4 separate regions of the Homo sapiens genome follow, and regions 1, 2 and 3 are each linked to region 4. The links are contacts of gene promoters, found by promoter capture Hi-C in blood cells and fetal thymus (Javierre and others, 2016). All regions are on one chromosome and are shown on one strand. Each heading gives the region's core, a stretch centred on a gene start or on the middle of the fragment in contact. The rest is flanking DNA. Distances are from core to core; before and after follow the strand shown. Region 1 overlaps MAST2 (microtubule associated serine/threonine kinase 2). Region 2 overlaps P3R3URF-PIK3R3 (P3R3URF-PIK3R3 readthrough). Region 3 overlaps MAST2 (microtubule associated serine/threonine kinase 2). Region 4 holds the start of LURAP1 (leucine rich adaptor protein 1).

Evidence for each region. The method cuts DNA at HindIII sites, captures the fragments that hold promoters and counts their contacts. A CHiCAGO score of 5 or more calls a contact.
Region 1: a contact is called between a fragment that was not itself captured here and the fragment with the promoter of LURAP1 in region 4, in 3 of 17 cell types (erythroblasts, M1 macrophages and M0 macrophages). The highest score is 6.3, in erythroblasts.
Region 2: a contact is called between a fragment that was not itself captured here and the fragment with the promoter of LURAP1 in region 4, in 2 of 17 cell types (M1 macrophages and endothelial precursors). The highest score is 5.2, in M1 macrophages.
Region 3: a fragment that was not itself captured here is called in contact with the fragment with the promoter of LURAP1 in region 4 in 16 of 17 cell types (M1 macrophages, endothelial precursors, M0 macrophages and 13 more); the score reaches 10.6 in M1 macrophages.

The regions. Positions count from the first base shown.
Region 1 is chr1:45,949,559-45,955,325 of GRCh38, reverse strand. All of the region lies in intron 4 of MAST2 (microtubule associated serine/threonine kinase 2), which reads right to left. Among named protein-coding and RNA genes, the nearest start is that of MAST2, 150 kb to the right of the region's middle. The HindIII fragment of the contact is 2,380 bases long and covers 2,699-5,078 here.
Region 2 is chr1:46,055,798-46,061,780 of GRCh38, reverse strand. It overlaps P3R3URF-PIK3R3 (P3R3URF-PIK3R3 readthrough), which reads left to right. Exons shown (of 10, transcript NM_001303427.2): 7 at 5,810-5,983. PIK3R3 (phosphoinositide-3-kinase regulatory subunit 3) reads left to right here. Exons shown (of 10, transcript NM_003629.4): 7 at 5,810-5,983. Among named protein-coding and RNA genes, the nearest start is that of PIK3R3, 74 kb to the left of the region's middle. The HindIII fragment of the contact is 3,547 bases long and covers 2,354-5,900 here.
Region 3 is chr1:46,034,964-46,040,686 of GRCh38, reverse strand. It overlaps MAST2 (microtubule associated serine/threonine kinase 2), which reads right to left. Exons shown (of 29, transcript NM_015112.3): 29 at 4,565-5,723. The coding sequence ends at 4,621. It overlaps P3R3URF-PIK3R3 (P3R3URF-PIK3R3 readthrough), which reads left to right. Exons shown (of 10, transcript NM_001303427.2): 10 at 1-547. PIK3R3 (phosphoinositide-3-kinase regulatory subunit 3) reads left to right here. Exons shown (of 10, transcript NM_003629.4): 10 at 1-547. Among named protein-coding and RNA genes, the nearest start is that of PIK3R3, 95 kb to the left of the region's middle. RefSeq lists enhancers at 3,564-3,613, 3,223-3,724. The HindIII fragment of the contact is 5,954 bases long and covers 1-5,723 here.
Region 4 is chr1:46,199,741-46,204,853 of GRCh38, reverse strand. LURAP1 (leucine rich adaptor protein 1) reads right to left here and starts at 1,520. Exons shown (of 2, transcript NM_001013615.3): 1 at 1,230-1,520. The coding sequence starts at 1,427. It also overlaps a transcript of POMGNT1 not described here. RefSeq lists a silencer at 1,480-1,599. The HindIII fragment of the contact is 3,345 bases long and covers 1-2,044 here.

The DNA.
Region 1 (5,767 bases), core at 2,639-5,138, 250 kb after region 4:
ATTTAAAGTATACAGGAAGATGTGTATAGGTTATATGCGAATATTATGTATGCTCTTTTATATAAGAGACTTGGGCATCTGCAGATTTTGGTATCCGTGTGGGTCCTGGAACTAATCCCCAATATATATATGATGGTATATATTTTGCACATTCATTTTGTTGTCTCTCTTCTCATCAGAAATTAAACTGTATGAGGGCAGGGGCTTTTGTATGCTTTGTGTACTGCTGCACTCCTCAATACCTAGAACGCTGCCTGGCACACAGTAGGCTCTCAATAAGTATTTGTTAAATGAATGGATGAGTATGATTTGTTACAAGGATTAAAATAAAGAAGATACATGTATACCTGGCCTATGAAAGGTAAATCAAACTGTTATATCTAAATCCTTGTGTCTGAAAGTGAAAATGTCTTGAAACTTCAGGGACGGATAATTAATTCCAGCTTCATTTGCCTTAACCTTATTTAAAATTTAAAATAAAAGCCAAAACACTAAAGATCGTATTTCCAGGCCACATGCCTTTTTATAAAGGTACACATAATCTCACTTGGCAAATCTTTAACAGCTGCCAGGGGAAAAAAAGGTCAGACACTCTGCTACAGATACCATGACTCAGCTGAGATCCACAACAAGGAACTGGCTAATTTTTCCATTTCAACAGGCTCTGGCCATTTCCCCAGGATCCTAAGAAGATAAAGGGCAAGTCTTAATTCTTTCATTCCAGTAAGATGAAGTACTGGATATCTGCAGAGTTGGGTACACTAACTCTCAGCGGACGGGTGGTAGCCTGGAAGCCCCCGGAGCTACCTCATGCAAAGACTGGTGTTAAATCATCCCAGTCACTTGGCTACTTGGAGTGAGACTTGGCATTTCAATTTCTTACATACCTCGCCATGGTCATCTCAGTCAACAGCAAGAACAAGGGCTAAGGCATATCGTGCATTCTCTGTGACAATGTTGAATTGTAACCACATTTGGAGAGTAGTAGATCGTTTCTAGCCTTCAAAAACCCCTCCCTCCAGCAACTAGCAGGCACTCGGAAAATCTGACCCCTGCAAGAGCTGCTGTAAATTTACTTAGGAAGCCTGCTTCCCACTGTGAAGCAACAAAGGGTATGGAATAAGATGTCTGGTTGCAGATCCCTTAGGTCTCTCCAGTCTCCAAATCTCAGAGGTCTAGCTGCTCCTAGGAACTTGAGCACTCCGTGACTGGATAGTACTTGGCAGGCACCTTTTAGAATTTAGAATGAGGAAAAGATCACTTCTGTTTCAGTAAGTGTAAACAATATAAAGAAGAATGTGGAGCTGGTTACAGTCAAGCACTTCCAGATGCTATAATATTTCAGAGTAACAACCAAGATGTCCTGGTTAAGATGGGGAAGTGAGAGTGGGAAAAAAATACATATTCCCTCCCCAATAAAGGGAGATATTATTACGTATCCATTATATTATTATTGATATATTATTTATTGCTTACCTGGATTTCAATACCCTCCTAACTAGTCTCTCTGGTTTACTCTTGTCTTCTACCCTAATCTGTTCTTAATATGAGCAAGCCACAGTGATTCTTTTAAAGCACACATCTGATTATTTCATTCCTCTGCTCAAAACCTTCCACAGGCTGCTAATTTTGCACAGGCACTTCTAGCTACTAGGACCAGCGTTAACTGTTCCCTTTACTTGCAATGTCCTTCCTTCAACTACACAATGGCAAAATCCCTCACTCCTTCAAGGCTTTATTCTAATGTCACCTTCCCAATTTTCTGTTTTCCTGAATCCCCTTTGGTCTACCTTTTTTCCCAATAGCATTTGTCATCTTCTAACATACTACATAAACTATGTTTACTGTCTGTTTCTTCTTTTCTAGAGTGAGCTCTAAGAGGTATCCCAATCACCTAGAAATAGTACACAGGGCATAGGAGGTTTTCGACAAGTGTTTATTGAACAAATGAATGTATTTCCACAGAAGCAGGTAGTCAGAATTCCCCGCAAGGGCAGCAGGCATCAGAGGAACTAGGAGAAAAGTCTTTGCTCTAAGGTAAAGTTTTCCTCCAAGTCTGATGGCAACTCTCCTTGAATTAATCAAGTTTTTTTTTTTAACCTCTGCTCTATTGGTTTAGAAATTACATATTGTTTTGTTTTTTTCTGTCCTAAAGTAGTTGTTATTATTCAAGGTTTAATAGGTGTTCTTGTCTCAACAATGTCTAAAGTTAACCAGCACCTCAACTCTCTTTCTGAACAAAATTAAAAGATCCTAGATCGCTTTTAACTCCAATCCTCCCACTCCCTTTCAACTTACCTATTATTACAATCTATTATTTCAGGTCTATCTTACTTTTACATTGCCAAATTAGTAATTATTATTTTATACAATAATTGCTTGCTTAGATTTACTCATGTATTTTCTAATTTCACTGCTTAACATTCCCTCTTGGGATCTCATGTATTTCTTCTTTGTTTCTGAAATATATCCTGTAGTAATTATTTCAGAGAGGATCTGATAGTAATAAATCTTCTCTATAGATTTTGTTCTCTTGGTTTTTGATGGTCTGAAAATGGCTTTTTTTGGTCACTCACTTCCACTGCTAATTTAGCAAGTATGGATAATTCTAGTGTCTTGTTCAGAGTAACTTTTTTCTCAATACTTTAAAAATATTATTCTGTAGTCTTATGGCTCCTGTTATTGCTGTTGAAAAGCTTACTCTTAGCATAAGTGCTGTTCCTTTGTACTTAATTTTTCTTTTTCTGTCTGGTTGCTTTATTTTAACCATTAACTTATTTTTTTAGATATATTTCCAACAATATAAAATTCACCCTTTTAAAATGTACAACTCATTCATTTTTAGTATATTCACAAGGCTGTGCAAGCACTGCCACTATCTAATTCCAGAATATTTTCATTGCCAAAAAGAAACCTTGTACCCATTAGCAGTCATTCTCCATCCCATTCTCCCCACAACCAACCACCAACGTACTGTCTCTATGGATTCACTGTCTCTGTGGACTCTACGTATTCTGGACATTTCACAGAAACTGAATCATACATTATGTAGTCTTTGGCTTCTTTTACTCAGCATGTTTTCATGCATGTTGTGGCATGCATAAATTCTCCATGCCACAATTGTTAATCCTTTCATAAAATGACAAGGTATTTGGGTTGTTACTACTTTTTGGTTATCATAGATGCTGCTGCTGTGAACATTTGTTTACAAGTTTTTGCATGAACATATATTTTCAATTTTCTTGAGTGAACTTTCTTGCTGAGCTCTTTTACTTTAGTGAATTCTTGAGGGTTCTTTAAGATATTCTCTTTGTTTTCATGGCTCTGCAGTACTGCAATGTATCTAGATGGGGATTTATTTTTATTTATTATAGTGGGGACTCACCATGCTTCAAGATGTTCCTTGTTTGTTTCTAATCAGTTCTGGAAGGTCTCAGTCATTATCTCTATGAATACTGCCTCTTCCCATTTCTCCATATTCTGTTGGACCATCTGATCATATCTTCTGTATTTCTTAGCTTTCATTCATAGTTTATATCTTCCCATTTCTGTCTTGCACTCTTGATAAAAATTTTACTTTGTCCACAGCTCTATTATTTAACACGACTGTTGCATTTTCAATTTCAACAACACAATACATATATTTTATTCCTCGAATTCTAATTAGCTTTTTGTCCAAATATATTTGGTCTTTTTTTCTCTTGTTTCTGTTTCCTTCTTTTATATTCTTTTTTGTTTGTTTTGAGACAGGGGATCACTCTGTCACCCAGGTTGGAGTGCAGTGGCTCAATCTCCACTCACTGTTGCCTCTATTTCCTGGGCTCAGGTGATCCTCCCACCTCAGCCTCCAGGGTAGCTGGGGCCACAGGCCCATGCTACCATGCCTGACTAAGTTTTGTATTTTTTGTAGAGACAGGGTTTTACCATATTGTCTGGGATGGTCTTGAACTCCTGGGCTCAAGTGATCCGCCCGTCTTGTCCTCCCAAACTGCTGGGATTACAGGCATAAGCCATCATGTCCAGCCTCCTTCTTTTATATTCTTAATAATTTTAAATATACTAATCTTACAGTCTTAATCTCTAATGTTACTTTGTTTTTCTTTTTGAGACAGGTTCTCACTCTGTCATCCAGGCTAGGGTGCAATGGCACAATCACAGTTCACTGCAGCCTTGACCTCCCTGACACAAGCAATCCTCACCTCAGCCTCCCAAGTAGCTGAGAAAACAAGCATGCACCACCATGCCCAGCTAATTAAAAAAAAAAAAATTTAGTAGAGATGAGACTTCACTATGTTGTTCAGGCTGGTCTTGAACTCCCGGGCTCAAGCGATCCTCCCACCTCAGCCTCCTAAAGTGCTGGGATTACAGGCATGAGCCACCACACTCAGCTAACATTCGTATTTTTTTGTAGAGACAGGGTTTGACCATGTTGCCCAGGCTGGTTTCGAACTCCTGGGCTCAAGCAGTCCACTCGCCTCAGCCATCCAAAGTATTAAGATGAAAGTTGTGAGCCACTGTGCCCACCCTCTAATGCTACTTTCTGAAGTTCCAAACTGTTTCTTTTATCTATTGATTTTCACTTAGGGGAGATTGGTTGGTTGGTTTGTAATTTTGTACTACAAACTTACCTTCAGTGAAGCTGCATTTATGAGAATCCTATGATACCTGATTTGAGGGTATGTCACTTAATAGAAGTGTTAAGTTTGTTTCTGACAGATGAGCCAGAGTTATTACCAGCCCAGAACCAGCTTCTAGACCACACAAAGAGTATAAACTCCAACCCCCAATTTCAGTTAAGTGAAGGCTTACAGGTAGAAATTTTCAAGGGAGACGTCTTTCCTTTATTAAAAGCCCTATTTAAAATCCAGATGAGATTAAGAAAGTTCTTTTTATCTGTACATGCCAGTGGTTTTCCTAGTCCATTCCTGCACTGAGGGTGAAGTCTTTTGAGGGTCCTAATTGTATGTAGGGGGTGTCCATTCTAATTGCTTACACTAAACAAGCCAAGACCTCATCTTTTTTCCCCTCAAGGTTATTGAGACTAGCACATCTCCTCCCTGACCCCATTTTTGGAAGCTTCAAAGCTGGCTCCCACTGTTATTATTATTATTTTTTAGGTTCAGGGGTACATATTCAGGTACATAGGTAAACTCCTGACACAGGGGTTTGTTGTATAGGTTGTTTCATCACCCAGATATTAAGCCTAGCACCCAATAGTTACTTTTCCTGCTCCTCTCCCTCCTCTCTCTCTCCACCCCCAAGTAGACCTCAATGTCTGTTGTTTTCCCTTCTTTGTGTTCATGAGTTATCTTCATTCAGCTCCCACTTATAAGTAAGAACATGCGGTATTTGGTTTCCTGTTCCTGGGTTAGTTTACTTAGGATCGTAGCCTCCAGCTCCATCCATGTTCTCGCAAAAGACATGATCTTGTTCTTTATGGCTGCATAACATTCCATGGTATATATGTACCACATTTTCTTTATCCCATCTATCATTAATGGGCATTTAGGTTGATTCCATGTCTTTGCTAATGTGAATAGTGCTATAATGAACATTCGTGTGCATGTGTCTTTATGGCAGAATGATTTATATTCCTCTGGGTATATACCTAGTAATGAAATTGCTGGGTCAAATGGTACTTCTGCTTTTAGCTCTTTGAGGAATCACCATACTGCTTTCCACAATGGTTGAACTAAATTACACTCCCACCAACAGTGTGTAAGTGTTCCCTTTCCTCCACAACCTTGCCAGCATCTGTTATTTTTTT
Region 2 (5,983 bases), core at 2,878-5,377, 150 kb after region 4:
AACTTCCTCTCTCCTCTGCTCTTTGTTCATTCTCCCAAACGGATAAACTCCTGCTTATCCGTTAGGACTTCAGGTTAGATATCATCTTTTCTAGAAACTGTTCCCTGATTCCGGAGACCAATTTAGGGGCTGTATTTTGGGTCCCTACAGTGCCTGGTCCTGATCCCTAGTGTAACATTTACTGAATGCCACGCCCACTCAACTGTAAACTCATTGAGAGTAGGCATGGTGGCTTATTTTCCCTGGTAGCCCTAGTACCTACTTATGTATGGGAGTACATAATGGGTGCTCATCGAATATTTTTTTGAATTGAATATCAACTTTGGCAGCAGTCTGAGAATAAATTGTAGTAGAACAAGACTGTAGGCAGGAACACCAGCCTGACTTGCACATGACTGCAACAGTTGTGGTCATCAGGTTAAACGATAATGAGGGCCTGGACTAGAGAAATAGCAGAAAAGAAGCGGGAGGTCATGGGAATGCTAAGGACTTCATGCCTGACCAGATATGGTAGGTGTGGGAGAAGTCAAAGATTATTCCTAGATTTCTGGTGTGAGAGACTGGAAGATGGTGTTTTTCACCAAAATAAGAAGTACATGAGGAGAGTTTAGGGTTGGAACCAGTGAGTTTGAGGTTCCTGTGAGAACACAAATGGAGCTCACTAGGGGGCAGGCAGCTGATTATTTGGATTTGGAACTTGGTATAGAAAGGATTTGGGAGGCATAGGTGTGTAGTTGATGGTAGATGCTAAGAATGAAATTACACAGAAAGGATGTGGCAGGAGAAGTAATGGATTTGATAACTAAAAGGATATTGAAATCCTATCAAAGCAAATTTAGTGGAGTATTGGAAGACTAAGCTAGATTATAGTGGGTTGAGTGCTAAAGTGGATAATAAATACAAGTAATTAATATGCAATGGAAAAGCAAAATTATTTCTCATATTAGGACCACAGTATTAGTGTATTTCTGTGTGCATGAGTTTAGAGCTAAGCACTGTGAGGCAGTGTAGCTTAATGGTTAAAGTGCTGTGAGACAGTGTAGCTTAATGGCATGAGTTTAGAGCTAAGTGCTGTGAGGCAGTGTAGCTTAAATGGTTAAAACTATGGGCTTGAATTCTGAATTAGCCATTTATTAGCTGTATAAACTTGGGTGAATTACTTAACTTTTCTCAGTCTGTTTTCTCTTCCATAAACTGAATAATATCTTGTTGGAATGCTAGAGAATTAAGTAATATATATCCTGGCACATGATGTGCTTTCAGTAAATGATAATTATTTATTTATTTATTTATTTGAGACGGAGTCTCTGTTGCCCAGGCTGGAGTGCAGTGGTGCCATCTTGGCTCACTGCAACCTCTGTCTCCTGGGTTCAAGCGATTCTTGTATCTCAGCCTCCTGAGTCGCTGGGATTACAGGCACCCCCCACCATGCCCGGCTAATTTTTGGTACTTTTTAGTAGAGATGGGGTTTTGCCAAATTGGCCAGGCTGGCCTTGAACTGCTGACCTCAGGTGATCCACCTGCCTTGGCCTCCCAAAGTGCTGGGATTACAGGCTTGAGCTACTGCGCCTGGCCTAATTATAATTATTATTAACGATGAAGAAACAGAAAAGGATTTGTAGTTTTGTTGCAGAGGGAAGTAAAGTAGCATGATAACGTTTTGTTTTATTTATTTATTTTTGAGACGGAGTCTCGCTCTGTCGCCCACGCTGGAGTGCAGTGGTGCGATTTCGGCTCACTGCACCCTCCGCCTCCTGGGTTCAAGTGATTATCCTGCCTCAGCCTCCCAAGTAGCTGGGATTATAGGTGCATGCCACCACACCCGGCTGATTTTTGTATTTTTAGTAGAGATAGGGTTTCATCAAGTTGGCCAGGCTGGTCCTGAGCTCCTGACCCCAGGTGATCTGCCCGCCTTGGCCTCCCAAAGTGCTGGGATTACAGGCATGAGCCACCGCGCCCAGCCTATTTTTAATTTTTTTTATTTTTTGAGGTAGGGTTTTGCTCTGTTGCCCAGGCTGGAATGAAGTGGCATGATCATGGCTCACTGCAGCCTCAACCTCCTGGGCTCACGGGATCCACTTGCCTCAGCCTCCCGAGTTGCTAGGACTACAGGCAAGTGCCACTGCATTGGCTAATTTTTAAAAATCTTTTTGTAGAGATGGGGTCCTGAACTCCTGGACTCAAGCAATCCTCCCCGCTCAGCTTCCCAAAGTGCTGGGATTACAGGTGTGTGTCCAGCATATGAAGTTTTAATAGTAATATAAAGCCACATATTGAGTGACAAGGGAATAATGTAGACAGTCATTACCATAAGGGTTCAGAGTATAGCAAAACGTTGTGTGTTGGAAAAGCTTATAGCTGTCATCTGTTGCGTGCTTACCAAGATAATGTCAGGGAATGTTTTTGTCCTTTACATGTATTGTCACATTTAATTAACAGAAAAACCCAGTGAAGTAAGTACTGTTGTAGGTACCCATTTGTATTAGTCCATTTTCATGCTGCTGATAAAGACATACCTGAGACTGGGGTAGTTTACAGAAAGAAGAGATTTAATTGGACTTACAGTTCCACGTGACTAGGGAAGCCTCACAATCATGGTGGAAGGGAAGGAAGAGCAAATCACGTCTTACATGGATGGCAGCAGGCAAAGAGAGAATGAGGAAGATGCAAAAGCAGAAATCCCTGATAAAACCATCAGATCTCGTGAAACTTACTCACTACAATGAGAACAGTAGTGGGGAAACCGCCTCCATGATTCAGTTGTTTCACCTTGGTCCCTCCCACAGCATGTGGGAATTATGGGAGTACAATTCAAGAGGAGATTCGGGTGGGGACACAGCCAAACCATATTATTCTGCCCCTGGCCCCTCCCAAATCCTTTATCTTTACATTTCAGAACCAATCATGCATTCCCAACAGTCCCCCAAAGTCTTAACTCATTTCAGCATTAACTCAAAAGTCCACAGTCCAAAGTCTCATCTGAGACAAGGCAAGTCTCTTCTGCCTATAAGCCTGTAAAATCAAAAGCAAGCTAGTTATTTCCTAGATACAGTGGGGGTACAGACATTGGGTAAATACACCTGTTCCAAATGGAAGAAATTGGCCAGAACAAAGGGGCTACAGGGTCCATGCAAGTCTGAAATCCAGCAGGACAGTCAAATCTTAAAGCTCCAAAATGGTCTCCTTTGACTCCATGTCTCACATCCAGGACATGCTGACGCAAGAGATGGGTTCCCATGGTCTGGGGCAGCTCCGCCCCTGTGGCTTTGCAGGGTACAGCCTCCCTCCTGGCTGCTTTCACAGGGTGGCCTTGAGTGTCTGCGGCTTTTCCAGGCACACGGTGTAAGCTGTCAATGAATCTACAATTCTGGGGTCTGGAGGACAGTGGCCTTCTTCTCACAGTGCCACTAGGCGGTGCCCCAGTAGGAACTCTGTGTGGCGGCTTCGACCCCGCATTTCCCTTCCACACTGCCCCAGCAGAGGTTCTCCATGAGAGCCCCGCCCCTGCAGCAAACTTCTGCCTGGGCATCCAGGTGTTTCCATACGTCTGAAATCTAGGTGGAGGTTCCCAATTCTTGACTTCTGTGCACCTGCAGGCTCAATGCCACATGGAAGCTGCCAAGACTTGGGGCTTGTACCATCTGAATCCATGGCCTGAGCCCTATGTTGGCCCCTTTCAGCCATGGCTGGAGTGGCTAGGACGCAGGGCACCAAGTCTCTAGGCTGCACACAGCTCAGGGACCCTGGGCCCAGCTCACGAAACTCCTTTTTCCTCTAGGCCTCCAGGGCTTGATGGGAGGGGCTGCCTTGAAGACCTCTGACATGCCCTGAAGACATTTCCCCCATTGTCTTGGGGATTAACTTTTGGCTTTTTGTTACTTATGCAAATTTCTGCAGCCGGCTTGAATTTCTCCTCAGAAAATGGAATTTTATTTTCTATTGCATTGTCAGGCTGCAAATTTTTCAAACTTTTATGCTGTTTCTCTTTTAAAACTGAATGCTTTTAAGAGCACCCACGTCACCTCTTGAATGCTTTGCTGCTTAGAAATTTCTTCCGCCAGATATCCTAAATCATCTCCCTCAAGTTCAAAGTTCCACAAATCTCTAGGGCAGGGGCAAAATGCTATCAATCTCTTTGCTAAAACGTAACAAGAGTCACCTTTGCTCCAGTTCACAACAAGTTCCTCATCTCCATCTGAGACCACCTCAGCCTGGACCTTATTGTCCATATGACTATCAGCATTTTGGGCAAAGCCATTCAACACTAGGAAGTTCCAAACTTTCCCACATTTTCCTGTCTTCTTCTGAGCCCTCCAAACTGTTCCAACCTCTGCCTGTTACCCAGTTTTAAGGTCACTTCCCCATTTTCGGGTATCTTTTCAGCAGTGCCCCATTCTACTAGTACTAATTTACTAAATTAGTCCGTTTTCATGCTGCTGATAAGGAAATACCCAAGACAGGGCAATTTACAAAAGGAAGAGGCTTAATTAGGCTTACAGTTCCACGTGGCTTGGGAAGCCTCACAATCATGGTGGAAGGCAAGGAGAGGAGCAAGTCCCGTCTTACATGGATGGCAGCAGGCAAAGAGAGAATGAGGAAGATGCAAAAGCAGAAACCCCTGATAAAACCATCAGATCTTGTGAGACCTATTCACTACCACGAGAACAGTATGGGGGAACCGCCCCCATGATTCAGTTATCTATTCCCGGGTCCTTCCTACAACATGTGGGAATTATGGGAGTACAATTCAAGATGAGATTTGGGTGAGGGCACAGCCAAACCATATCACCATTTTAAACAGATGAGGAAATGAAGGCACTGAGAAGTTAAATAACTTGCCCATGGCCCCACAGCAAGTGACAGCAGAGATTCAGATGTAGGTAGGCTAATTGCAAAACCATTGTTCTTAACTGTTGTGTTATGCTACCTCTGGAATATCAAATGTATAGCTTTACTTGTTCAGTCATTGCTGGATTCAGGGCCCAAACAAGGTTATTGGGATTCTCTCTCATGTTGTATTTTGGCTCAGTTTTTCTCTGGGTTGATTTTATCCTCAGGCAGGCATTGCCGGTGAAGTGACAGTATAGCTGCTGGGATGAGAACTGCATATTCATAATTTAGCAATTTGTGTGGAAAGAGAGAATTTATTTTAACAATACAGTTCTAGCAAATGTTCTAGAATTGACTCTCATTGGGTCAGTTTGAGTTTTATTCCTATTCCTGAACCGTCACTGTGGCCTGAGGGTAGGGATGGGATAGAGTGGAATATTCTTATTGGCCAGTCTGGGCCATGTGTGTTTCCATCCCTGGATCTGAGACGGGGGAATGAATCCTTACCTCCAGGGAACATCAGGGTGCTAATACCAGAAATGGGAATGGATATGGGCCAGGCAAAAACAAATGTTCACCACGCTTAAGATATTAGGACCTCACTGGGTGCAATGGCTCACGCCTGTAATCCCAGTACTTTGGGAGACTGAGGCAGGCAGATCACCTGAGGTTAGAAGTTTGAGACCAGCCTGGTCAACATGGCAAAACCCCATCTCTACTAAAAATACAAAAATTAGCCGGGTGTGGTGGCATGCGCCTGTAATCCCAGCTACTGGGGAGGCTGAGGCAGGAGAATTGCTTGAACCCGGGAGGCGGAGGTTGCAGTGAGCCGAGATCATGCCACTACACTCCAGCCTGGGTGACAGAGCGAGACTCAATCTCAAGGGAAAAAAAAAAAGGATATTAGGACCGTGCTCACCCAGTAGGATCTGTCTGCTTGATTTCTATTTTAGCCTTAACATGTCAAATATTTTTACAGAATTATGATGAATTATGATAAATTGAAATCACGTCTGGGTGAGATTCATGATAGCAAAATGCGTCTAGAGCAGGATTTGAAGAATCAAGCTTTGGACAACCGAGAAATAGATAAAAAAATGAATAGCATCAAACCTGACCTGATCCAGCTGCGAAAGATCCGAGATCAACACCT
Region 3 (5,723 bases), core at 1,662-4,161, 170 kb after region 4:
TAAACTGAGAATTGCACCTGGGCAATTCCTGTTTTCTAAGGTGGTCTCTGCTGCTATTTAACAACCCAGAGTAGGCCTCTGTGAGGCTTCAGTGGCCTCAGAAACCAGAGGGTCCAGATAGGGGGCCTGCTTGGGCCCTCTGCTGCCAACTGCTCAAACCTGCTTTAGCTCCAGCCACTTGTGGCAAACAACCTCGTTTCCTTACAAATTCCAGCATGTGACTTTGGTGCCGTTACTTGTGAAAAATCTATTCTGTTGTCTTTGATGTGTCCAAGAAAATTCGTGTAGTTTACGTAAAAATATCTGACTCACAAGAAAGCCAACTGTATGTCTTGTGATGGGACAGTTCATAATGTAGTTGCTAGACCACTTTACAAATTGTTCTTGTCACCAGATGTGTTCAGACATTGCTGTGCAATTGTTGGGGAGGGTAGGGGGAAAGGCGAGAGGAGATACTTATTGGTCTTTTTGTTTAATACCTTCCCCAAGAGGGGACAGTCTGGCCAACTTGCTCCAGTAATGCAATAAAGACATTGCAATAAAGTAATTTTTTGTCTTCATGCTATGAAGGGGTGGGCTGGGGGCAGAGTGGGGGTCAAGAGAGAAGAGTACTCAGGTGTTGAACAGCCCTTGAAACTTCCAAACCTTCTCTCCAGTAAGCACCAAAAGACTAGTACTGGGGCAGCCAGAGGCTCTTTTCTTCCTAGGGGAGGACATTGACTCCAACTAGGCATGATGCCAGAGTCCTGTCCACCGAACACAGACACAGAAGTCTTAGATACTGACTCTGAGAAAATTAAAACTGAATGCCATTTCCTCCACACCTCACTGCCCACTCCTAATAAGCTGTTTATTGGTTCTCATATTTCTGCCCAGAATGAAGTGTTTCCACATTCTACTCTGGGGGAGGGGGAAATGGGCCCAGCTTTATAATCTATCCTCTTATTGCCCCAGGCCCTTGTCATCTCCTGCCAAGGCACACTGTTGAGCTTCCTGTATTCTGGGAACGTAATGAGCCAACATGCGATAACCTCTTGTTGCATAGGATATTGCAGCGCTCATCCATGTCTCAGGCCCCACCCATGTGTACTCAATTATAAATAAGTCAGATTGGGCAGGGAACAGCCTGTTGTTCTAAGTGACCTTGCCTATGTCTTTTCTCCCCACTACACTTTAGCTACACAGCATCCCAAGACCACTGCCAGGAACTATGGATTTCTCCTAATCCCAGAGTTGTTCGCACTTCTGTGTTTAGGATGCTCAAATTCCTAGCTCCTTCCCAGTTCTTTCTTCTGAACTCTACCCGCTGGCTGGATGTTTCCACTGGGCTCCTGGGTATCTCACCGACACTTCAAACTTGTTTACTTGGGGCTGGGCGTGGTGGCTCATGCCTGTAATCCCAGCACTTTGGGAGGCCGAGGCGGGTGGATCACCTGAGGTCAGGAGTTCGAGAACAGCCTGGCCAACGTGGTGAAACCCCGTCTCTACTAAAAGTACAAAAATTAGCTGGGCGTGGTAGCATGCACCTGTAATCCCAGCTACTCGGGAGGCTGAGGCATGAGAATTGCTTGAACCTGGGATGCAGGGGTTGCAGTGAGCTGAGGCCGTGCCACTGCACTCCAGCCTGGGCAACAGAGCGAAACTCTGTCTCAAAAAAGCAAACTTGTTTACTTGTCAGAAAAAGTATGATTGGCTATGAATTTCCTCACCTTCCTACCACCAAACCTACAACCTTATCTATATCTACATAACTATTCTCCCTCCCATCTGTTAAATTACAATAGTCCCCTCCAACTAAAGTCAATCCTTCCACATGTATTTTGGAATCTATTTTCTTCCACCTCAGGAATCTCCCAAGATTAAGATCAATTCTTTCTCTACTTCAACTGGATCATTTCCACTGACACTTAAACATGGTTGGTTGGTTCTCATTCTACTCCCCTAATCCCTACTCAATCATCCCATATACCTTTATCTCTTTTCTCCTCTTCAAAGCCAAGCCTTTGGAAAGAACTGTCTTAAATTTCCTTATTTCCCCATCTCAAATATTTCAGTACTGGTTCCACCACTGTTTGAAACTGCTTTTCTTGATGCCTTCAATAACCATCGCTGTTAACTATCCTGTCCATGGAAAGCTCCTTCATGGACTCTATCACAACTCACTAATCTAATATTCTTCTGACATCTGACTGTTCTTTTACATCTCCTGGATTCCTTCAGTTCTCAATGCCATTTTACCTGGCAGTTTTATCCACAGCCATGAATCCACCTACCATCTCTAGGCTGATTACATCTGTTTATTTCATTTGCCCAGACCTCTATTGGAAGCTACTTCATATTTAGCGTATGGAATGCAGCACTGAACTACTTAGCCCTGGTTCTCTTCCTTGTTTCTTATTTCGGTGAATGGAAATACAATTCATCTGGTTATATAAGTCAAAAATGTAGTCAGTCATCATCCTTGATAGCCCTCTGCTTCATACCTAAAGTCCTTCACCAAGTGTCAATCAAAACATCACTTCTAACTTCACTGCTTCACTACCATCTGCACCCTTCATCCTGGAAGGCCCCCCTTCTTCCATTCTTGTCCCCCTCAGATCCATTCTCATTATAGCAACCAGTCATCTTTTCAAAATACAAATCTGAACCGATGTAAAACATTAAATAAGTCTCCATTGATCTTAGGGTGAATTACAAAATTAGATGGTCTGGCTTCTCCCTGATTCAGGATCTCAATCCCCACCTTCAACTTTTCACTGGCTCTATCCCCCTCAGCTAGTGCCAGTATTTCGGGACTTCTTCCTCATTCTGCGTATGTTCCCTGGACAGTCCTCATCTCCTGTGGCTTTCATTGCCCTCTACTTCCTGATGGCTCCCAAATCTAGATGTCCAGCTTCCCACCCTTTCCTTCCTTACCTCCTCACTGTTGCTGTTCTAGTTCAGACCACCAAAATGGGTCACTACATCCTCTGTGGTACGCTCACTCCACTCCAGCCTCTCTATACTGCAGCGAGTGATCTTCCTAAAGCAAATGATAATACCACTTCCCTGAAGTTACCTTTTAGAAACTCTTCACTACCCTCAGGATAATCCCACCAGTTTCTCAAGGGGAACACCACTGACACTTGGGGCAGTTGCCCAGTGTGGTATAGGATGTTTAGCATCTCTGCTTCCTCCTCCCATCCCCATTTCCAACCCTCTAGGAGGGCAGTTCCCAACATCCTTTTCACCTGTGGTATGGTGCTTCTGACCAGATCCCTACATGCACGGGGCACTTGCTACCTCAGCCATGCCCCTGCCATTCTCCAGCTCACAACCTGTGATCTGTCTGCCCAGGTCCCGGTACATTAGCCCAGGGTCCGCTGTGAATGAATGAAGAAGTGGAGAGGACTAGAAGGCTGAGGGGCCAAATATCTGCATAAATGGGCTCTGCCACTGTGGATACAGTGCGCCCTCTGGTGGCCACAGCCTTCCCAGGCAATGGCCCAGAGGCATTTTCGTCTTCAGGCCTCCTAACACGTCTTCTTCAGACCTAGGCACTGGATTGTGGGACGATCAGTGCAACCAGTGCAAGACAGTTTCTCAAGTCCTCTATCACTATGGAGACAAAGCCTTGGTGCTCTACCAAGCCCCACTGCCTGCCCTGTGATGCCACCTCCTGACTCCCCTGGCACTGGTCCCACTTATGTCCTCCCCCTTCCTCCCACACTACCATCAAATGAAGTTCTACTCAATGCGGGCTACACACACGATGTCCATCCACCTCCAGTGCTGAGGCCTCTACCTACAACAGCCCAGGAAGAGCTCACTGGCTACAATTATGAAGGGCTTGTTACTAAATACGACTGGCAGCTGTTTTAATCTCGCCCTCACCTCGGCATTTATCGTTAACTTCTCTGTCCATTTTAAAACTCCTCCCATAGACTTTATGACTCTGCTGGTTGCTGCTTCTGTCTTCTCTTTTATCTCAAACGCACCCAAAGTTAAACTCTTTGCCTTCTCTCACTTCTTCCCCTCCTCATTTCCTGGCTGAGGCAATCCTAGTTAGGAGAGATGTGAGTTCCGGAGTCCAAGGGAGACCTACGTTCTAACCCCCGTTCTACCCAAGCTACTGTATTACCATGGGCATCAAAGTCTTAGTGCCCTTATCTATGAAGGAATTTTAGTTGCTACATGGTATTTTCTGGTTCCCCATCACCTTCACGAAGTCAAATCTCCTGGAAGACCATTAGACATGGCCCTTGCCTCACTTGCCAGACCCGTTTCTACTTTGAATTATCTTTGGTTCCTTGACTATGCCAGGTATACTGCATGTGCTAAACGTTGCCTGGACAGCCTTTCTTATGCCAACCTCCACTCTTCCACACCCAGCAAACTACTACCTATCATCTATTCTTCATGTTTGAGCTCAAATGTCAAAGCCTTTGGGAAGTCAAGCTGGGTTAGGTGGCCCTCCCCTGGTGGTGGAAACTGTTTTATTCACCACTATATTCCCAGCAGCAACACAGGACCTAGTTACATGTGGGTTGACCGAAGGAAAACAAGCAAGCAAAAGACATAAAGATGGTTTCCAGGAGCATATATTACACAGGTCTGAGTGCAAGAAATGGCAAACAACTGCTATGTTTGCTTTAAAAGCTCATCTGGAACCAATGCCAAATCCCGATGCTTTTGATGGCCCCCTGGTTCTTGGCCCCTCCTGAGGCTGGGCTCAGACTTCTGGGTGAGGGGGCAGCCTCGGCATGGAACGTCCTGCCTTCTGTCACCTGAGGCATCAGGCACTTGGGTGATGCTCAGGGCTGGATCCTCTTTCACTGCTTGTGCACACTCAGACTCCCATAGCCAGCCCTGGCTGGGATCCTCATAAGATGGATGGGCCAGTCTGGGGGCACTAGGTGGCTGTGTCTTCCCCTGCTCCCTGGGAGACAGGTTCTTAGGCTGGGCTGGAGTTGTGTTTTCCAAATCCTGGAGGTTGGCTAGCCCACCTGCCATGGTTGCCTTTCTGCTTGGGGATGCCCTGTCTGGGCCCTCAATAAGGGATTTCCAGGACCACATGCTCAGCTTCCCAGAGGTGGAGCTGGGAGGAGAGCAACTGCTGGTGGGGGTGAGTCCCGAAGTGCTGGGAGAAAGTGCTGTTAGTGCCTGGGTGTGGAGGTGCTGGGCCTTCCAGCAACCTTCAGGAGGGATGGGGTCTGTGGCTCCAGACTGACCTAGGTTGGGGCCTGCTGAGGAGGAGCTGGCAGCCTCCTCAATGGCTTGTGGGCTCCCGAGCCTCCTGTGGGGACCACTGGGACTTTCCATTCTGGGAGGCCCCAGTGTGATCCCTGTCAATAGGCTTGGGACCATTGGGCCCAGGCTCCTAGGGTCTCTGGACGGGAAAGGATCCTCTTCCCCACTCTCTCCTGCTCCTTTAGGGGCCACACTCTGGCTCACTTCTGGGTGAGGTGCCAAGCTCAGCTCCTGTGCACCCTGGCTGTTCTCAGGCCCTTCCTCGGTGTCGTCCTCTGAGGAGTCCACCTCACGAATGGCTTCTTGCTTCTGCAGCGACTCCCGTCGTTCGGCTCGGTCCTGCCGGAGGGTGCCTAGGGCCCGTGAGGGAGCAGGCTGCAGCACCCCCTTCCCTGGCAGGGCCCCCTTGCCAGACAGCACACTCCTGGCTCCAACTACCTCCAGAGGGCTCACTTCCCTGGGCGGCAGTTCCTTCTTTAGTTCAGAGTGGGGCA
Region 4 (5,113 bases), core at 271-2,770:
CAAGTAGACAGTCTAGATAGGCTCTTACTAGGCCTTGAGCTAAAGTTTGTACAGTGAGGCAAAGGCAAGCCCCCGCTTAGGTGGGTACAGTCACAGCCTTGCTCTGGAGAATTGGGCACTCACCTCCAACCTTCAAGGCCAAGTGCACACTTGGCATTCAAGTCCTTCTCCCAGGGGGCCTTTCCTGACTGCTCCACCCACCAGACTCTCTTCCCAGCCTCTCAGCTCAGGCGTCGGAGCCCTGGCTGGTCTCAGAGCCCCCATGATTTCCTTCCCCTTCTCCTTCACAGACCAGCTTGGCACAGGCTGGGCACACAGGAAGACTTTAGCTGACGTACTCACTGTGGGCTCCTGGTTGTGAGCCAGGAAGCCGATGGCAATTCCTCAGTTCCCCAGAACTGGCTGCAAAGTAGTGGCAGGTGTAAATCACCCACTTCACCGGAATCAGGGCCCTGGGGAACCTGCCAGGGCCTCGGCTGCCCTTTTGGCTCTGAATCTAGACCAGCAGCAATAGAGAAAGGGGAGGGTTGCTGTTTCCTCTTCTCCCCAAGAATGTACAGATGAGATCCAAATATCCAGTTTACCTGGAAGACTGGCTGGGAGGAGACTGAGTCTGAGGCGAGGGAATCAGCACCAGTGGTGCTGCTACTCTCTGTCCCTGCTATGGGTCTAGGAACTTTCCATTATTTTAAGTAGGGCTGGGGGATGTAGAGGAAACGGAGAAGGTTTTCAGTGCCCCTGGTCCAGGTAGTTTTCAGCAGATAGGCCCCTTTACCCACTTCTTTTCTGTGCGGAACACTGCGGCCTCACAGGAACTTAAACCCTTTCCCGGTTAGCAGAAGGAGAAAAAACCGGTTGCCTTACAACGGGGACTGGCGGGGAATAGGTGGCCCATACAGGCGGGGGGAATTTGTGCTGCGTTGGGTTCTCAGTACTTCCCAGTCCTCATCTCTCTCCTCCCAATTATTTGGCAGGAATAACTTCCAAAACCCACTGCTCCCAACCCAAGTCCTCAGGACCATCAACACCCCACTCACTCTTGGGGGACAAGTAATGGACGTCACTCCATCTCCACCCCAGCGTTTACGGATTGATCTGGGAGGGATTCTGAGCAGTTAGGTGGAGAGTTTTAACTACCTCCTCTCCAGCTTAACTCTGGGAGCATGAGTTCGTCCCTCCCGGCCCTACACTAGGGACTCGTCCCCTTGGCCCATGGATTCAGCACTCACCAGCTCCATCTTCAGCGCCATGATCTTGTCCCCCAAGTCGTGGCCGGTGCTAGACGCCCCTGGGAGCAGCAGGGCGCCAGAGGTTCCCAGCTCACACTCGCCTCGCAGCCCGCGGAGCAGCCCTTCAGGGGTCTTCCTGCCCACCTTACCCTCCACATCCCGCAGGTCAGGCGTCTGGGACTCCACGGTCCCCTCCATGCGGGCCCAAGCCTGAAAAGGGCTGGGCGACCGGACGCCGGGGACCGGCTCCCGGGGGTCCTCCCTTCGCCGCTGCTAAAGCGGAGCAAAACCGGTGGGTCCCCGCCCGCGCGGCGCGGGGGCGGGAGGAGGGCGCCGTAACACTCAGAAAAGCCGCGCAGCACCGTCTGTGGATGTATTCGAGTGCTGCGCACACAACCTCTGGCCCTGGATTGCGTGGGGCTGGGCGATTCTGGAGTTGGACCTGAAAGAGCACTCGGAGACCTCAGCGCCTTCGCCCCACCCTGGCACTGAATCCAGCCAGGCACACAGCAGGCGCCCAATACATGTTTGCAGAATGAAGTCTAAGCAGCTTCAGTCAGAGATGTGGGAGTTTAAGGAACAGCGGTAACAGAGAGCTGCAGAGGGCTTGGAAGTCTTCCTGGAGCAGAGGAATTGGGTATAAAACGATGACTGGATTTTAGCTAGACACACACACACACACACACACACACACACACACACACCACCCCCCCCCCCCAGGGGCTAGAATTCAGGCTAACGGAGTAGAAAAGGGCAACCAGTACTGAAGCTGAAGAGGTCCACGTTGGGCTTACAAGCAAGATGCTCCTTAAGCTTGACTGTGCGTATGAATTATCTGCGGATCTTGTTAAAATGTAGGTTCTGATTTTGTAAATCTGGGGTGGGGCTTGAGATCCTGCATTTTTTTTTTTTTTTTTTTTTTTTTTTTGAGACAGAGTCTCGCTCTGTCGCCCAGGATGTAGCGTGGTGGCGCGATCTTGGCTCACTACAAACCTCTGCCTCCCTGGGTTCAAGCAATTCTCCTGCCTCTGCCTCCTGAGTAGCTGGGATTACAGGCATGCGCCACCATGCCCAGCTAATATTTTTGTATTTTTAGTAGAGACAGGGTTTCACCATGTTGGCCAGGCTGGTCTTGAACTCCTGACTTCAAGTGATCCGCCTGCCTTGGCCTCCCAAAGTGCTGGGATTACAGGTGTGAGCCACTGCGCCCAGCCAAGATCCTGCATTTCTAATAAGCTCCCAGGTGATGGCCATGCTGCTGGTCCACACTTCAAGTAATAAGGGACCACACTTTGAGTAACAAGGTTACAGAAAATGGTTCTGAGATGTTTGGGTTTTATTTAACAGGTAATGAACAGCCATGAAAACTCTGGTTTGTTTAGGCTTTTAATTCAAGTAATTCCAGCCCATGGTTGCAGAAGGATTTACAATGAGAAGATAGTTACCCCTACCCTACCCTTTCACACCTCTAGGCCCACTCCCAATTGGCAAAAAATAACTTTTAGTTTTTTTTTTTCTTTTGGTGTTCATACCCATAACGTTATTGTTTAGAGTTAACTAAAAGTGGTTGCCAATTGGGAGTGGGCCTAGAGGTGTGAAAGGGTAGGGTAGGAGTAACTATCCTCTTATTGTAAATCCTACCACTATTTTTTCTTTTTTAGAGACAGGGTCTTCCTACATTGCCCAGGCTGGACTCAAACTCCTGGGCTCAAGCAATCCTCCTGCCTCCCAAGCAGCTGTGACTACAGGAGTATGCCACCATGCCCAGCCACACTACTTCTCAATTTTAAACATTCATCTGCTGTTTATTGTCCTATTCAGATAAATATGGATATATGGGTTTAACTCACACTCTGTAGTTCCTTTCCCCCATTGGCAATATATATTTCTTTTCTTTTCTTTCTTTTTTCTTTTTTTTTTTTTTTTTGAGATGGAGTCTCACTCTGTCGCCCAGGCTGGAGTGCAGTGGCACGATCTTGACTCACTGCAACCTGCCCTCCTGGGTTCAAGCGATTCTCCTGCCTCAGCCTCCTGAGTAGCTGGGATTACAGGCACGTGCCACCATGCCCGACTAATTTTTGTATTTTTAGTAGAGACGGGGGTTTCACCATGTTGGTCAGGCTGGTCTCGAACTCTTGACCTCGTGATCTGCCTGCCTCAGCCTCCCAAAGTGCTGGGATTACAGGTGTGAGCCACTGCGCCCGGCCTGGCACTACATATTTCTATCACTCTTTTTAGTTCATCTAAGGTTACCTTTGTAATTAACTTTTTTTAAAATTTAGATAGAGTCTCGCTATGTTGCCCAGGCTGGTCTCGAACTCCTGGCCTCAAGCAATCCTCCCACCTTAGCCTCCCAAAGTGCTGGGATTACAGGCATGAGCCACCATGCCTGGCCTACCTTTATAATTTTAAGTAACATCATTTTCCTTGGTACTTTTTGATCCATGGAAGGGTTTTAAGTTAGAGATAGACAAAACATTTGTCTTTTTTTTTTGAGACAGAGTCCGGCTCTGTTGCCCAGGCTGGAGTGCAGTGGCACCATCTTGGCTCATTGCAACTTCTGCCTCCCAGGTTCAAGCCATTCTCCTGCCTCAGCCTCCTGAGTAACTGGAATTACAGGCACCTGCCACAACACCCAGCTAATTCTTGTATTTTTAGTAGAGACGGGGTTTCACCATGTTGGCCAGGCGGATCCATCCGCCTCAGGTGATCCACCCGCCTTGGCCTCCCAAAGTGCCGGGATTACAGGCATGAGCCACCGAACCCGGCAACATTTGCCTTAAAGAAAATCACTCTGGATTTTGCAAGGAGAAAAGGATAGGAGGAGTAAAAATCTAGAGTCAAGGAGACTGGCTGGAAAGCAAGAAACTGAAATGGCCTGCACTGGGGCTGATTGTGAGGTCAAAGAAGAATTAGACTAGAATGGAAGGCTCTTTAGGAGGTAAGACTGACAGGACTAGGTGACTGGTTACATTCATTTATAGTGGCATTCAATAAAAATTTGTTAAAAAATACAAATGAATGATTTCAACAAATGTTACGGAGAGCTTACTATGTGCCAGCCTTTGTGTGTGGTGTAGAGAATACAATGGTGAGCAAGACATACCTGGACTGGTCACTGGAGACAGACAAGGAGTCAAGGGTGACTCCCAGCTGTTTGGCCTGGTGCAGTTCACTGAGGAGGGGAACCCACAGGAAATCTAGGAGTGAAAGGAAATGATTCCAGAAGTTGTGCTGTTGCGTTAGAGGGGCCTGTGAAGATGTCCTGCTGGACATCAGGCAGCCTGGAGCTCAGGAAAGAGGTTAGAACTGCCAATGTCAGTTTGGGCATCTAGATTGGTAACAGAGGTCATGAGAGAATGAGATCATCCATGAAGAGTCAGTTTGAGGAGAAAAGAGGGTCAGGAAGGAACCCTGAGGGACATCTTTTAATTATTTATTTTTATTTTTTTATTTTTTGAGACGGAGTCTTGCTCTGTCACTCAGGCTGGAGTGCAGTGGTGCAATCTCAACTGCAACTTCTGTCTCCCAGGTTCAAGCGATTCTCCTGCTTCAGCCTCCTGAGTAGCTACGATTATAGGCGCCTGTCACCACGCCCAGCTAACTTTTGTATTTTTAGTAGAGACGGGGTTTCACCGCGTTGGGCAGGCTGGTCTCAAACTCCTGACCTCAACTGACCACCCCACCTCGGCCTCCCAACCTGCTGGGATTACGTGAGTCATGGTGCCCAGCCGGGACATCTTTTCAAATGTAATAAAATGTGTTGGGTTTTCTTCCATTCTTATACATACTTACTAGGAAAAATCATGTATTTCTTTAACTCCTAAGACAAGTACTGTTAACATTTCATTTTGGGGGATATTACCCCACCATTCAGGAAGCAG